Regions from separate parts of the Homo sapiens genome. Here region 2 is linked to region 1. The links are contacts of gene promoters, found by promoter capture Hi-C in human tissues and cell types (Jung and others, 2019). All regions are on one chromosome and are shown on one strand. Each heading gives the region's core, a stretch centred on a gene start or on the middle of the fragment in contact. The rest is flanking DNA. Distances are from core to core; before and after follow the strand shown. Region 1 holds the start of ACMSD (aminocarboxymuconate semialdehyde decarboxylase). Region 2 has its middle 58 kb from the start of ACMSD.

Region 1 (2,700 bases), core at 68-2,567:
CAAAGTAACTGGTGCATTCCCTTCATGAAATCATTAACATTGTGAAGTGGTTTACACTTCAGTAAACTATGATGAGGACAACAGCACTCAGAACAGCATGTTCCTGTGTAAACATGTAGAGTCCTTTTAGGAAGAGCAGGTTGAGAGGTTTATCTTTTATCGTTAGCTGTGCATAGGATAGGCTTTCAAAGATTTTGTTTTTCAATCCACAGTTTCTACCACCCCTCTTACCTAAGATACCAATGGACAAAGAAATACTTAAGATAAACATTCTTCAATGAGACAACTATGAGAAGAAAATAGTTTCATCTATTTGCACAATGAACCACATTTAATTCAAGTTTGGGTTAATTCATTTTCCCTCACTTGGGATAAAAAAGTTGAAACATTATCGGTGGTGTGAAAGTACTGGCAGAATGCTGAAGATTGGGTAAAACCTGATATTAAGCCTGAACAAACCTCTAGCCAATTTTACATTTCTTTCATGTTCCTCACCTTCCTCTTTTTATATTCATTCAAAAGTTCTTAATGACAAAAGGAAATTTCCATCTTTAGAGAAACACAAAGAATACTCTCTTAGGAGATGTCACTGTGCAAAAGCTTCATGTCATTTATTCTCGGGTTTTTTGATGTACCTACTTCCTAGTTCTTCAGGACAAAGATTTATAGAATAAAGAACATCAAACAGTAAAGGTTTCAGGCAGTGTCCTAAAATAGACTAAAAAAATTCACAAAGCTATCTCTTGGTGCTTCTAAAACTTATTTTAAACATTTTGGAAAGGAGATATATTTTAGAAGTCCTTGAAACCGATCACATTCCATTTTTAATGGTCTTCTACTTAAAATTGTAACTTTAAATTCTGTAGTTGGCATGTATCTTCCCAGCAGCTGAATATGTGATTTTTGAAAAGGTAAATCTGCCTTATTTAAATTGTCCAGATATTTTAAAGAATGGTTCATTTGAGGGAAAAAAGGGTTTCTGAGAAAGCACTTATTTCTTTAATCCAATGTTATTTCAAAATAAATATAAAAGTCATTTTTAAAAGCTAGAAAATCAGAACTACCAAATGATTTAACCCCCTCGCCCCCCACCAAAGCAGATAAACTAGACATCTAATTCCACAAAGAAGAGAAAGGCATTGAGAAACCCTGGAGAAGTTTCAGAAATAATTCAGCAAATTAATTACCATTACCTTTTTTAGATCTGGCCATTCTTTTGGTAGAATATGACTATGGATGTCAATTTTCATCTCCACAGGATCAGAGAAGCATGCAAGGAAAGAAGTTTTGATATCAAGAGACCTTTGTGAAAACTGTGGAGTTAATTGATTTACTTAGTCCCTTTACAGCAACCTTCAGGCAGCAGTCAGTAGGCCTGCCCAACCCAGTCTAGGTCCATTAGAACTGCTTTATTAAAGTTCAAAGTTCTGTTTATTTGTTAACCAAGCTTTGGTTAACCAAGCTTTATTTGTTAATCAAGCTTTGGGTCAACACAGTTTGGTAGTCAGGACTCTTGGCACAAAACTTAAAAAAACAAAAACAAAAACAAAAACAAAAAAACAACTGTACTCAACTGTATGAGGTCAAAAGCACAGCAGGATGCTTTGACTTACAGCAGGTCAAAAATTGACTGATTTTTCATTTTAAATATTTTAACTTAGTTGTACATAGTTAATAATTAAATAGTTTGTAGTTAAAAATAAAACCATGCAGAGGGCTTTTACAGAAAAAGGATAGATCCCTGACTCACCTTTTCTTACTTTTCCTTGCACTATTCAGAAGCAGCCAGTTTTTATGATTTTGCTTTTTGTTCAGTTAGTTACTCCCATATCTTTAAATAATATTTAACAGTTGTCTTGTTCATGAAAATTTAACGTGTTGAAAAGTTATGGGGAGGTTTCACATTTTAAATCACAGAAAGAGTCCACTCTTCATATATGTTTTTTCCTCCAGTGCCTTTGTCTTGGACTCATTCATTCATGCATTTTTTTCCTTTTTTTTTTGTTTTTTAATTTGAGATGCGGTCTCACTATATTGCCCAGGCTGGTATGGAATTCCTGGGCTCAAGCAATCCACCCACCTTTGCCTCCCAAAGTGCTGGGATTACAGGCGAGAGCCACTGCACCCAGCTTCATTCATGCATTTAACAAACATTTATGGAGAACTGCTATATGCTGACGATGTAAGGTTGACTGAGAGAAAGATGATACATATCCTAAAGTGTAGGGAAAAGAAGATAGTAGCCATTTCCATTTAGCATTATCAGAGCAGTCAGGGAGGGCTTCCAATATAGCAGAAAGTGGGGCTTATATGGTCATGCCTCTAAAGAGAGCCTGGAACAAAACAGCCCTTGATTGTTCTGTGTTTACCCTTTCCTCTTCCTGAACAGCTTAAAATGTTCAAGGGACCCCAGGTCCCCTGGCAAACCCTTAAACCTGCCTTGGTTGCTGCCTTCAGCTCAGACTCCACAACACATAAATTGAGTAGTCAAAAAGCTTCCTTCTGTAATTCAGCTAGATTCTGGATAAATTATAACAGACAGCTTGAAAGAAAATAAAGGAAATCCTTGAAATCCATTTTTTTAGAAGTTCAGTGAGCTAAAACTGAATGAGTAAGCCTTAAACTAACATGGAGGCACTTGCTAATACTGAGTAAGTAAGTGCAAGCATTTTTAGAGCACTCCCAATGGGCCAGGCACTG
Region 2 (2,700 bases), core at 201-2,700, 58 kb after region 1:
GTCAAGAGTATGTAGCATGAGCAATTTTGAATCATTTTTTTTACTTCATATTATATCATGAGCGTTTCCAACATCACTATAAATCCTCTGAAAATATTGCTTTTAATGATGACACAATACTCAACCATTTTCATCTTCTAAAATGGACTTAATGTTGCTGTTTTGAGCATTTAAGCTGTTTGGGATTTCCAGTATAATGAATAACAGTGTAGTGAATATTTTTGTGCAAAGCCTTTGCTGAATTTTGGATTATTTCCTTAAGGTAGATAACCAAAGATGAAATAAGTGGTTTAGAGGTGTGGCTAATTTCAAGGTCTATGAAACTTCTTGAAAAATTATTTTCCATTAGGTTTGTACTAGTTTTCTCTCCTACTAGCAATATGATGGGCTGGGAAATCTGCGTGTAGTAATCTTAGTGGCTCTCAAAGATATTTAACTGTAACTCACCCTAAAAAACACATTTTGTATCTTAACCAAACACACCCCCACACACTCATAAATGAACTGAAACAAAGCTTTCTCTTTGAACACATAATGCATTCCTCTGATGTTGTGTTTTCTTTTATCTCCTATTCTATTTTTTTAAATGCTAGCTTTAATTCATAAGTTGATTTCAAGGCCTATGAATAGGTCATGACCCAGTTTGAAAAAACACTGGTAAGATCCTGGGAGAGGACACAGTTGAGTGTAATTCACACATGCACCTAGGAGGATCACAGGAACTACCCCTTTTAAACATATCTCAAGACCCAAATTTCCTGCCACTTCAAGAAACATGCTCGTTTGATGAAATGATCATAGCACTAGATTAAAACAACATCTGCATTGAACAGCTGACCACCTTTTAAAATCTGAATTTAGCCCTGCCTCAAAGCCTAAATGTCATTCCCATTAGTTCTACATTTTTGGATGTTTGTTAATTCAAGAAATTCTCACAGGCACACATCTTGTGATTTCTATGCATTTAATAATGGAAGATGAAGTGGCAACGATGCAGAATTTTGAATTCTGTGAGATTTTGATGTAACTTCCACCTTTGGTCTTATCAACACTTTTGTGTGTCTGTGAGTTCTTCTACCTAGGCTTTAAAAAAGATTTAGACTTTCCAGCTAACATCTGGGAAAGGCAAATGAACAGCAGTGGGTTTTCAAAAATAGAGAAAAGGACATAGAAGAAAGAAAACAGGCTGGGCGCAGTGGCTAACACCTGTAATCCCAGCACTTTGGGAGGCCGAGGTGGGCAGATCACCTGAGGTCAAGAGTTTGAGACCAGCCTGGCCAACATGGTGAAACCCTGTCTCTACCAAAAAGTACAAACATTAGCCAGTGTGGTGGTGCAAACCTGTAGTTCTAACTACTAGGGAGGCTGGTGGAAGAATCACTTGAACCCAGGAGGCAGAGGTTGTAGTGAGCCAAGATCAAGATTGTGCCCCTGCATTCCAGCCTGGGTGACAGAGTGAGACCCTGTTCCAGAAATAAAAAAATTAGAAAAGAAACCATCTCTATTTTTAGATAGATGTCAGATTAATTTTCCGGATTCAGTGTAAGAGAAATCCCTTCTTCTGTTTAACACATGAAAATTTATTTTAAATCTAAATATATTAAATACAAACATAAGAAAATATATTAAATACATATCATAGGCCACCCAGCTCTAAATTTTATGAGAGAGCTGAGGGACAAACATTTCATGAAACATCATATTTTTGATTGGTATTCTTTTTTCTTTTTCTTTTTTTCACCTGGTAAATAGAGAATACTAGAAGAAAGACAACAATGTGAAACAGTTAGACATAAAAGATTATAAAAAAGTGCCTCAAAAATTAGATCACCTTTTATTTATGATACACTTTTCCTGCAGAGAATTCAAAGCACTTCACAGACATCTTCCTTATTCATTTCCACAGTCCTTTAGTGTAAGAAACAGGCAAAAGAAACTTATATCCATAGTACAGAGGTTTAGGAGAAAAGAAGTTTTGCAGCCCAAGGACCTGCCCAGATTCCAAAAGAAGATTGGACAAAAATAATTTTACACTTAAAAATTCTAAATGGTTATCTCACACGTGCCCTGTGCCTTCAACCACAGGGGACCCTCCGGAGTTTGAGGTTCTGAGAGCAGTGTTCATTCATTAAACACAGCACCAACTGTGTGGCCAGGCGCTATTTCAAGTGCTTTTCAAATATCAACTTATTTCACGTTCATGACAACCCTAGGAAGTGGGTACTATTATTTCCATTTTACTGACGAGGAGACTGAGGCACTGAGAAAAATGACTTGCTCAAGATCACGGCTAGTCAGTGGTGGGACTGAGACAAGAGAATAGGGTCTGGAGGCAGGGAAACTAAGGCCAATTCACGCTGACTTCCTAGAACTAAATCAAGAGGAAAATCCCAACTTTCCATGCCTAAGTAGCAAAAGGACCAGAGGCTACTCCCTTTGCAACCCCTACCACCCCACTTTTCTGCAGGCATATGGAAAATGGAAAGTACCTCTGATTGGTCACAACCAATCAGACTGATTGTGAGCCACTACTTCATTTGCATGGGGTAAACATCAAGTAGCCAATGGGAAACCTCTGGTGGGTATTTGGACCCCAGAAGATTCTATAACCGGCTCTTGAGCGTTTGAGGCCCTATGCTCGGGACCTGCTCTTACCCTGTGGAGTGTAATTTTGTTTTCAATAAATTTCTGCTTTTTTGC

What was found. The method cuts DNA at HindIII sites, captures the fragments that hold promoters and counts their contacts. A contact is called where the count stands out against the background at its distance.
Region 2: a contact is called between a fragment that was not itself captured here and the fragment with the promoter of ACMSD in region 1, in 1 of the 25 tissues and cell types used here (mesendoderm cells).

Annotation. Positions count from the first base shown.
Region 1 is chr2:134,837,233-134,839,932 of GRCh38, reverse strand. ACMSD (aminocarboxymuconate semialdehyde decarboxylase) reads right to left here and starts at 1,317. Exons shown (of 10, transcript NM_138326.3): 1 at 1,194-1,317. The coding sequence starts at 1,250. The HindIII fragment of the contact is 2,006 bases long and covers 1-1,988 here.
Region 2 is chr2:134,779,190-134,781,889 of GRCh38, reverse strand. No RefSeq gene overlaps it. Among named protein-coding and RNA genes, the nearest start is that of ACMSD, 58 kb to the left of the region's middle. The HindIII fragment of the contact is 6,962 bases long and covers 1-2,700 here.